Linked DNA regions of Homo sapiens: region 1 is linked to region 2. The links are contacts of gene promoters, found by promoter capture Hi-C in human tissues and cell types (Jung and others, 2019). All regions are on one chromosome and are shown on one strand. The core of a region is centred on a gene start or on the middle of the fragment in contact, and the rest is flanking DNA. Distances in the headings are between cores, read along the strand shown.

Region 1 (5,359 bases), core at 2,579-5,078, 230 kb after region 2:
CTCCAAGGGGACATAGGAACTGTTTATAAATGAAAAGAGTGGGTTTTCATGTGTTCCTTTTGTCTGTTTTTCTCAATTAATTCCCTCAAACTCCTGATATTGGTGCAATATTCCTAAATACAGTCTTTAACTACTCCAATTACATACCTCCACGGCACAGAATGATCTATGTATTTTACTTTAAAATTGATAATTGCTCTCATTTTTCCTTGGCACAAGAGCCAACCTTTTTTGGCCACCATAAAACTATACTATAATTAAAAAAAAAAAAAAATATATATATATATATATATATATAGTATATATATAGTTATAGGGATCGTGGATTCTGATATATATAAAATATACATATGTATTTTATATATATATGTAAAGTGTGTGCATGTGTGTGTTTTGTTTGGTTTCTTAGACAAGGTCTACACTCTTGTCACTGAGGCTGGAGTACAGTGGTGCGATCTCAGCTCAGTGCAGTCTCTGCCTCCTAGGTTCAAGCGATCCTCCCATCTCAGCCTCCCGAGTAGCTGGGACTACTGGTGTGTGCCACCATGCCTGGCTAATTTCTTAATTTTTTGTAGAGATGAGGTCTCATTATATTGCCCAGACTGGTCTTGAACTCCTAGGCTCAAGTGATCCTCTGCCTTGGTCTCCCAAAGTGCTGGGATTACAGATGTGAGTCACCATGCCCAGTGTAATTGTAAAATATTTATATAACTTTGGAGGCATAGGGAAAAAATGTCTCATAGATTAATAAAAAGAAGCATGCATGAAGGTGTCCTAGCCCTCTAATCAGCTACTCACTCACTGTTACTTTGGGTAGGACATTCCATTTTTTTGGATCTCATTTTCCTCACAAAAAATATGCAGAAACTAAAGTAAGCAACTAAACTAAGCAATTTCAAAAGGTTCTTTCTGGCTTTTATTTTATTTTTGTAGAGACAGGGTCTTGCTATGTTGACCAGGCTGGTCTTGAACTCCTGGCCTCAAGAGATCCTCCTGCCTCTGCCTCCCAAAGTGCTGGGATTGCAGATGTGAACCACTGCATCCAGCCCTTTCTGGCTTTTGTTGTTGTTTTGTTTTGAGATGGAGTCTCGCTCTGTCACCCAGGCTGGAGTGCAGTGGCATGATCTTGGCTCACTGCAAGCTCTGCCTCCCGGGTTCACGCCATTCTCCTGCCTCAGCCTCCTGAGTAGCTGGGACTACAGGCACCTGCCACCACGGCTGGCTATCTTGTTGTATTTTTAGTAGAGACAGGGTTTCACTGTGTTAGCCAGGATGGTCTTGATCTCCTGACCTCGTGATCCGCCCGCCTCGGCCTCCCAAAATGCTGGGATTACAGGCGTGAGCTACTGCGCCCGGCCTCTGGCTTTTTTTTTGAGACAGAATTTTGCTCTTGTTGCCCAGACTGGAGTACAATGGTGCGATCTCAGTTCACCACAACCTCTGCCTCCTGAGTTCAAGCAATTCTCCTTCCTCAGCCTCCCAAGTAGCTGGGATTACAGGCATGCACCACCATACCTGGCTAATTTTGTATTTTTAGTAGGATGGGGTTTCTCCATGTTGGTCAGGCTGGTCTTGAACTCCCAACCTCAGGTGATCTGCCCGCCTCAGCCTCCAAAAGTGCTGGGATTGATTATAGGCATGAGCCACTGTGCTCGGCCCCTTTCTGGCTTTTAATTCCTTATGAATCTATGTGAAATTTCTGATTAAATTTGATAAGCAGTGACAAAGTAAAAAGCAATGCCTCTTTAATACTATGGACTTTCCTAGAGCCTCTAGTGGCTGAGAGAAGGGTTATCGTACTTCATTAGACCACAAATGGCCAATTCTAAAAGGCTTAGAAAAAACCTCTGCTTCCAATTTCCATAGCCCTGGGAATTTCAGCACTGTCATTTTAATGTTAAGTAGAGTGAAAATATACCAGGGGTTCTCATACTTGGAAATTTGGGGGGATTTTTGGTGGTCACAACGGCTTAGGGGATTGTTACTTGCACTTAATTGGGTGGGTGGGGGGGAATAGGAATATAAAACATCCTGCATTGCTTGGAACACACCTGCACAAAGAATTGTCTCACCCAAAATACCTATGGTGCCCTGGATGAGAAATGCTGCTACATTATGTCTGGGAAAGCCTTTGACTCTGCTATCTCAGGGGAGAAGGTGGGATTCTCTGGTTCTTTTGGTTACAATCACAGGAACACATTGAGGGTTCTTTTAATTTCCACGTTAACTATAATTTAGAGTCTAATTCAATCTCTTCTGATAGATTAAGTATTCAGAAGAAATGTAAAGAGTAAGTCCAGCTATTAGTGTATACCAGTGGCCTCAGAAACAAAGTTAACACCTCACCCAAGACACAGGGTTGGGCAGACACAGCATCTTTAAACCAGGCTGCTTTTACTCAAATACTATAACACCAATGATCACTAAAAGAATATAGTAGTCCTCTAGTACTTTTCACAAAGCAAAAATGTTGGACTGTTTTTGCCTAGTTAATGCCTGAACGTGATCTATATTTTCTCAGTCCTTAGTATTCATTTATTATTTCCTGCTCTGTGCTCACCCCTTGAACCTGATGGACACACTGGGTTTAATTTGAACACTAAACCCCATTCCTTGGCATAGTTTGTATTTGAACTCTGGTTTTACCCACTTCTCTTGGCTAACAGGTCAGTTAGGCCTGACTTAAGCTTTGGTCTATGAAACTGAGTAGTGCCTTGATTTTGCTGGCATCCTCGCTAGAGTGGCACTGGTCCCACTCAAAGAATGACTAAACAATCCACTTTATATTCCTCAAAATATTCATATTTTATATCTCATCTTGACATATATCATCACAATACTCAGTGATTAATTCTTTTATCTGATTTAATCTATTTCCTCAATGTGTTTATTTCTTTGAATTATTTTAAACTATTCTTAATGATTTTTGACTTTTAGGTAAATACTCTCTTAACATAATATGTTCCTCGATATGGCATTTATCAAAAGGCTTTAAAAATTGGCAACTTGGCCGGGTGCAGTGGCTCACGCCTATAATCCCAGCACTTTGGGAGGCTGAGGTGGGCAGATCACTTGAGGCCAGGAGTTTGAGACCAGCCTGGGCAACATGGTGAAACCTCATCTCTACCAAAAAATACAAAAAATTAGCCAGGTGTGGTGGTGCGCGCCTGTGGTCCCAGCTACTAGCAAGGTTAAGATGGGAGAATCGTTTGAACCTGGGAGATGGAGGCTGCAGTGAGCCAAGATCATGCCACTGTACTCCAACCTAGGTGACAGAGTGAGACCCTCGCCTCAAAAAAGAAAAAAAAAAGTGGCAACTATCCATGTTTTAAGAGACAGCTGGCAGAATTATAAGAATGAAAAGGACCAACCTGTTTCTGAGAATCAGACACCTTGGACTCAAGTCACCATGGACTATTTCTGCTTTGTGTAGCATCTCCACTATTGTCAAAAGGTTATAAATAATCAACACTGTTATTTCATGGGTAATATATTCACTGTGTTGGAGAAGATCCTGGAAATTGAAGGACAGAAAACTCACTATTTCTCAAGTTTGGCAGATCGTAGTTATACTCAATACCTTGAAAACTGATGGTTTGTAGTCTTCCTTGTTCTCTACTGGAACGTAGGCACCTCTGTAGACTGAGTCTATGTCCCAGTTTTAATAACACTGCCATCTCCCATAAGATTGTTTGTAAGGATTTAATGACATAATGATGAAGGGCATCAAGCATGAGCCTGGCCCAAAATAGGTACTTAATAAATGGATTTAAAATACCCTCATTCCAACCATTTTTGAGAATTCATATTATCATCAAAATCCATAGCAAACCTTCTTAAGAACAAACCGAAGAGTAAAATGACATATTGTGTCTGGGTTTTAAAAACTATCCAGTGGGGGTAGTATAGCTAAAACAAGAGTGACCATGAGCTAAGATTATCATAGATGACTAGTTCATGGGAGTTCATTGTACAATTCTACTTTTATTTATGCTTGACAACGGACCAAAAAAAGTTAAAAAAATACCAAAGAGATCTTTGGTCAAAATAACGAGAAAATTATCAATGCTTCTAACTTATACTTGAATTGGTCTATTTCTAGAAGATTGACAGGAATTTTGTACTAAATTCCTTTGCTAAATGGAGCACAAATCTCTCTACTTCAGGACTTTAAATTATGTTTTTAGTATTACAGACCTGAAGGGTGAAGCAGTTTATATATTGGTGCCAAACAATACAGCCATCTTGATATTGATAACAGCTGCAAAAATGATCAAAATCTTCATTTAAACGTTCCTTTAACTTGAGGTTGATATAAAAGTCCCATGGGACAGGTTGAGAAGATACCTGTAAGACATTGTATTTTAAAAATAAGTTCAGTTAAGTCTATGGTTATGGCTGGCAGGTTGAAACACATTCCTTCCAGCCCTTCTGATAGAGAAATAATAAAGAGATATTTTTAAAGGCATAAATCTACTATAAAAGACACAATAACAACAAATTCTGGAAAGAGGATAAGCTGGAAAGAGAACAGGAGGTAACAATCCAATTAGAATAAAAACTGATTTTGGCAGAGGAGAAAGCTGAGCTACATTTACACTACAAGGCTATTTTCCTATACTATATAACTGGCAGCACCAATTACCCATGGAAGTGAGGCTGAGGGTGGAGCTAAGACAGGAGTGATTGAATCCCATTTAAGAGGAAGGTAGGCCTAGTGCAGTGGCTCATGCCTGTAATCCCAGCACTCTGGGAGGCTGAGGCGTGTGGATTACCTGACATCAGGGGTTCAAGACCAGCCTGACCAATGATTATGAAGGGGTGAAACCCCGTCTCTGCTAAAAATACAAAAAATTAGCTAGGCTTTTGGTGGCGGGTGCCTGTAATCCCAGCTACGCGGGAGGCTGAGACAGGAGAATCGCTTGACCCTGGGAGGCAGAGGTTGCAGTGAGCCAAAATCATGCCATTGCACTCCAGCCAGGGTGACAAGAGCAAAACTCCGTCTCGAAGAAAAAAAAAAACAAAAAAACAGGAAGGTAGACCCCAGCTTCCCTCCTCTGCTCCCATAGCCCAGCCCAGCAACTACCTCTCCCCTATTCTCGAAGTCCAGAAGTTTATTACCTAGTGAGTATAAAACAGAAGGGCTCTGGACTAGAGGGCACTAGGCACCACTGAGGGGGGTAGAAATAACATAGAAAACAGGAAAAAGTATATATATCAGATGTTATATATGCAGCAGTTAAGATGCACCTCCCTGCTCTTCTATTCTTCAGACCAATTTCCTCACTCAGATTTCAGAAAGCTAGCAGCCAGGCTTATATGCTCCAGGCAGAAAATTAGAAGTCTTCTCTGAGGGAGA
Region 2 (5,977 bases), core at 3,036-5,535:
TAGTTTTTAATTTGCACCGGGGATGAATAAATAAACAGAAATTTTCTCTGTTTCTTGATATAAGTGTTCCAGGGGCTGCTGGCTCCAGAAGGGGCACAATTTGCTCAGAGTGAAGAAACTCAGGCAATCCCCAGAAAGAGAGGAAGGACTGTGTTCTAGGACACACAGCAAACACAGCTAAAGGAGCTGAGAAGAGAGCCCAGGAGATGCATTCTGAGGTAGCTTTTCTCCTGCTACAGTAGAAGGAGGAGAGAAGTAGTAGGGATTTTTTTTTTAATTGACGGGGGAGCGGTCTGCATTGCCATGGCAACTGTGAGGGGTGGCCTTCCCGCGTAGAAGGGAAATGCTGGTCCATTAATCATCAAACTGGGGCACAAAAGGGAGGTTTGGGGGAAAGGGGATGGATGCAGAATATATTTTTTCACTATCTGGCCTCTAACCAGTCACCAGTCCTCTTTCCCGTTTCCCCCATGGTCCAGGGTTGATGGTGAACCAAAACAGAAGCCTGAGAGAGCAGGGATTGTAGCTTTCCTTTATGAGGGGTCCAATGTGGGGCTGATTGTGCCTCTTATGTTGGTGATGCCCCCATAAACACCTCTTCCAAACCAGCCCCAAAAGTCCCATCTATGGGCCAGACCCAGGAGTATTTTTCTTTTCTGTGCTCAGAATTGTGTTTTCTCCCTCATTTGCACCCGGTTTGAGAAGAGATAAAACATGGATTCATTTAGCATGAACAACAAGGAAAACTGCATAAGAGCAGCAAAGCTGGGTAGAAAGAATGGTGGTCCGGTGAGGTAGGAGGAAAACAGGATTACAGCCCTTTTCCAATGTCTATATGGTATCACATAAGCAATCCATAGGACTCTTCACCAGCAGAAATATTAGAAACAGCAGTTAAATTTCCCATTTACAGCACCCCAAACATGCCCTATCCATATGCCTTTGACAGAAAGGGCTGGAAATCTCCAAGGACTCCAATATGAGCATTTCTGGAGAAGCTGAAAGGAAGGTCTCCCCCTTGTTCCTGCCTAACTCAGCAACCAACCACATTTATTCACTCAACAAAAATGATGTGCACAGCACTGTACAAGAAATACCAGAATATTCACACACACACACACACACACAGAGGTTTAACACTCATATTGTTCCTGTCCTTAAGAAATTTCCAACCTACAAAACCACTCAAGAGGATACCACGTTAGAAAATCCAGAGTCATGAGCTCAGGCGGGGATGACTATGTTGGCCTGGAGTGGTCTGAGCAACAACCAGACTAAGGACAAGTGGGATTCAAGTGGGAGTAAAGGAAGGGGAGCGGCAGCAGTGAAGATGCAGGAAGAAAAAATGTGCATGGTATGGCTAGGGAAGAGCTGGAGGGGACACTGTCTAGGGTCAGACTGCAGGGAACGGGGAGCCATTGCAAGTCTGTGAGAAAGGGAGTGACACCGGGAAGGGGTGTTTTAGGAAGAATGACCTGGTAGCTGCATACAGACTGGATCAGAAGGGCCAAAGGAAGCAGGAGGGAAAGGGAGGCTATAACAACAACACAGGCCTGACACGGGGACAGCAGGACAACAGAAAGGAAGAAAGAGAGGGAGATATCAAAAAGAACCTAATCACTGGCTAAACTCTCCGGAGCAAACCCTCCTTAACACCAGATCCGACTGGCATGAGTCTCCTGCCAGGTAAGAGCCCTACCAAAGAGGGAAATGCTATTTGGGCAACTCCCCTTCATATTCCAGTGGCCAGACCACGTCATCCCCTTCTGACTGCCACCAAAAGAAATCACATGCCGTGTAGCCTCACAGAAGGCACAAAGGCCTTGAGATTCATCATCACTCTCTGGATTTTAGACATGCAATTAAATTATCTCAGAACAAACTTTAGCCTCCTGAGTGAGGTAATACCTACCTTTCTCACAAGCCTCAGCTCCATCCAGGCTGGGGTCTAGATCATTCCAGGGAGGTCCATGGGGGGTGGCCATGAATAAACTCCCATGCCCATGCTACCCTCTGAAGTGGCAGACAAGCAGCTTTCCCAGGTGGGATTACAGCCAACCACAGTTGAGAGCGGCTTCTAACCAGCCCTACCTGAGGTGGGACTCGAACTCAGATTCTCAGCAAAATCCACATTCTGAAACAGCCTGAGTTTCCCTGTCCTTATGATCCCAACTCTTCTTTTGGGTGTGGGGTTCACATGGAGGGCATGGGAGCTCTGAATGAGTTTTTCCAAGCAGGTAAACAACATCCAGCTCACAGCTGGTCACCGGGGGAGATGGAGGCACTCACAGCTTAAGCCAGTGGTTCCTAAGCATCCTCCAAGCTGGCCAAGGACAGTGGTGCCCCTCCAAGACATGTGGTCCCTCTGGGCCCTTTTTCTTTTTTTTTGTGGAAGACAGCGAGGTGAAGAGAGTAGGGAGGAAAGTCTCAGGTGGCACAAAGTAAAAGGACTGGAAAGCTTTTTATTTCATTATTAAATTCCTGCCTGGATTTATAAACTCAGCTTCTCATTTTTCTAAGTGGGTACCTTTGTGGCTAAGGAAAAGTGCTGGAGGCAGCTGCGGAGGGCTGGCGGGAGCCCACGGGGTGGGGTGTCTCTTGTCCTAATCAAACTAGTCTTCTGCACTTCTAACACTGTCGACAATGGGCGACTAGGAGATGTCCCAGGTGGGGTTAGACTTCTGCCTGTAGGCAGACTCTGCTTGTTGAAAAACCCCTCATTCTTGACAGGCTCTACAGCGGCTCACTGGGTCTGTCGCCTCGGTGAGTAGCAACCCCGTCGCCACCAGCCAAGGCACATCATGAGCATACACCCCCACCCCGGCCCCTCGGCCCCCGGCAAGTAGACCCCACTTCCCAGAGCCTCGAGGCCAACAGCGAGCGGCTAGAGCGGCAAGCCAGTGCCGCAGCTCCTCCCGGCGGGCGCCCCGGCCCCCGCAGTCCCCGGGGCAGAGTCCGGCCCCGTCGCCCGCCCCTCGGAGTGGGTGCCTCGGACCCGCTCCCCTCCCCGACGCCACCACCTGCGCCCGCTCCGGCGCCGCCTTTGTCCGGCGCTTCACCGCCAAGCGAGCCCCTCGGGCCCGACCTGACCCGGCCCCCAGCCCCAGAAGAGAGGCGGCGGAGCGAGCAGGGCAAGACCAGGCCGGGCCGCGAGCACAGGGTCCCGCTGTCACTTGGAGGCGGTCTGACAACTTCGATTCCCCCCGCCACACCTCGGACTCGGCCGCCGCCCCGCAAGGTCCCCGCAGGGCCTCCCGCGGCCCACACTCGCTTTTCGAACCGGTCCCCTTCCGTCTTCGGCGCCTCCCTTCCTCTCAGCCCGATCGAGTCGGGTCTACACTACTCCCCCCTGCCGCCCCCGGCCCGGCGCGGCCCTCATCCCCTGCCCCCCATCCAGCAATAACCGGTCAGCTCCCAGCGCGGGAGGGCGCCCCCCACCCTGAGCGGGCGATCCCGCGGCGCCGCCCCCGGCCGCGGCCCCTTGCCTCGGGGACCGCGATGGGGGAGGGGGCGCGGCGGGGGCCTCGCCGCCCGCGCACTCGGAGGCGAGCCGGCTCCGCCGCGGCGAGGAAAGACCGGCGTCCTCCCGCCCTCCGCAGCTCGGGACGCCCGCGCCGCCGCCGCCCGGCCGAGCTGCCACCCTGCGGCCGCCACCCACCCCGCCCCCGGCCTGCAAGGCGGGCGGCCCCCGGGGGCTGTCACCTCGAGGCGCGCCGCGTTCCCCGATGGCGGGACCGTGGTGCCGGACCCAGGGGAGGGAGGTGGCGCGAGCGGGCGGGCGGCCGCACCTGCTTCGCGTCGTCCGTCCGTCCGTCCCTTCCCGGGCTGGCGGGGGCGGTGGCGCGGCGCGCTCGGTGGGGCGCGCTGACGGGCGGCCGGTGCTCTCCCCCTTCGCTCTTCTGCCTACCTCGCTCGCTCCCTCCCTCCAGCTCGCCCCTTCCCCCTCCTCGACCCCGGCCCCTGACTCACCAGAACGGGCGGCGCGGACGGCGCGGCTCTGGGCGCCCGCAGGCCCCGGCCGGGCTGGAATCCGGCGGCTGGAACCCCCCGGGGGCGCTCAATTCCCGGGCTCCACGCTGCTGCGTCAGCGCCTCCTCCTGGGGGCCGGGGCCGGGCGGGCGGAGCGGGGACCGCGGCCGGGCGGGGCCGTCGGGGGGGGCGGGCGCGCCTGGCCGGGGCGGGCGGACGGCGGGGGCCGGACGGGCGGGGCAGGCAGCCGGACGGGCGGGCGGCGGGGGCCGGGCTCCGGGATCCGCTACGCCGCTCGCGGTTCCCCCACAAACTCCCCGAGAGCGGAGCCTCCGCCGCCCTCCTTCCTGCTTCCTCGTCCCCAGCCAATCAGCAGCGCGCCCCTCGGCCAGCTCCGCCAATCAGCCGCCCCGCCCTGCGCTGGCTCCGCCAGCCAATCCGGCCCTCGGCTCCCCCTCCCGGTCTCTGACCAATCAGAACCGTGGGTCGGTCGTCCCAACGCAGGGGGCAGCACGAGGCGGCCGGGGGAGGCGGTGCGGGGAGTGGTGGGGCCTTGGGGGAGGGGTGCCGTGCCAAGGGTGGTGGCAAGGGGTGATTTTCTTTGCCGGCTTCTTGGATTTTTCTCTTCGTCTTCAGAACCTGAGCCCGTATCCCACGGTGACTCGACCCCAATCTCCCAGCTGCTAGCCCCCCCGGAAAAATCTTATCTCCCCCCGCCCTGGCCATCACCCCTCCGCATCCCCTTTCCCCCAAATCCTCCCCAGCACGCGCTGGAGAAAACTGCGGGCCGAGGAACACCCCATCCTCGCCGGAGGCTGCTGCCCCCAGGGCAAAGCTTCAGGAAGACCAGCCGAAAATCAAGCGAGAACAACCCCCCTTTCCTGCAGAAAGGGCCCCAGACTCCTGCAAAAGGGCCCCGACTGCTGAGAAGCCCCTCCCGCCCTTGCCTCATCTTTCCGACTTCCCTGCCTGCCACGTCTCCTTTCCTTTCCAGCAAGGTCGGTCCTGGCTCGGTAACCCCTCACCCGCATCTCTTTTTCCTCTTTCTGCCCTTCACCTACCGCCCCCAACCCCAGCTCCTAATTCACCCTCTTCAGAAGCAGAGTGTGGAGCCCTCATCCATTTCCAGCTGACAGCAGAGCCTGGTCTGTGAGTCCTTGACACCCACACACCCTCTTCCACCACCGCGGGGAACATCAGAGCTCTCCGGGGGAGGGAGAAAGGGGCGGGCAGCCTGACAGGAGCGGCTGGACTCCCTCCCTCGCGTCCCCAAGCTACGGGAGAACCAAGTGTAGACACTTACCTGGCTTCCCCCTAGTCACCAAATGCTGTGGCTCCGTCTCTCACCCCCACAGACGTGCCCTCCCAAGCCCGAGCACGCTCGCGGGGTCAGTGGGGTGGGTGGGCACAGCAGGCTAAGGGCACAGAGAGAGATGGGAAGTCCCTGTTAGGTGCGGGAAGGAGCTGTGTCTTGGGCACCTGGTGGTGCCAGAGCCCGCCTAGGACTTCACTAAGCCCGGGATATGCACACAGTAGGTTCTCGAGAAATGCTGAGTTCACCCCTGAACAAAGCCTCATTCCCAATTCAGGCGGGGGAGGGGAGCTTTAGGAGGTAAAAGGAGCAGCGGCAGAAAGGGTAGTGTCAAGTCACCAGAGCGCTGGAGCAGCCCAGGGAGGGGCTGGGCCCCAGGAACGCCTTGGGCAGAGAGAGGCACCCAGAGTGCTGAGGCTGCCCAGGCAAGCAAGGAAAACCCAGCCTTGGAGTGTGGCCCAGGGGCTTCGGAGGGGCTCCTCCTGCACCACACACAGCGCCCAGCCTTTCCTAGACCTTGGGACTCCAGCGCTCACCCAGGCAGCCTTTTAAGACAATCAGGGCTGCTAGCCAATATGGCTGGGAAACAACCTCCCCCAGAAGCAGTTCCCCATCTGCCTCCAGAGCTGTCCAGGGGGCCCAGACTGTCTTAGCTGTTTGGGGGGACACACTTAAAGGAGGGGCCCCCTCAGCAGG

Evidence for each region. Contacts are between HindIII fragments. The study calls those that stand out against the background at their distance.
Region 1: a contact is called between a fragment that was not itself captured here and the fragment with the promoter of BAHD1 in region 2, in 2 of the 25 tissues and cell types used here (IMR-90 fibroblasts and small bowel).

What each region holds. Positions count from the first base shown.
Region 1 is chr15:40,211,487-40,216,845 of GRCh38, reverse strand. BUB1B (BUB1 mitotic checkpoint serine/threonine kinase B) reads right to left here. Exons shown (of 23, transcript NM_001211.6): 19 at 4,198-4,347; 20 at 3,372-3,514. All of the region lies in intron 1 of LOC107984763 (a long non-coding RNA gene), which reads left to right. Among named protein-coding and RNA genes, the nearest start is that of BUB1B-PAK6, 3.3 kb to the left of the region's middle. The HindIII fragment of the contact is 5,363 bases long and covers 1,147-5,359 here.
Region 2 is chr15:40,439,261-40,445,237 of GRCh38, reverse strand. It overlaps BAHD1 (bromo adjacent homology domain containing 1), which reads right to left and starts at 4,285. Exons shown (of 7, transcript NM_014952.5): 1 at 3,970-4,285. RefSeq lists silencers at 2,860-2,929, 2,950-3,069, 3,790-3,849, 4,298-4,483, 3,910-4,579 and enhancers at 3,235-3,734, 3,735-4,236, 5,042-5,579. The HindIII fragment of the contact is 6,344 bases long and covers 3,632-5,977 here.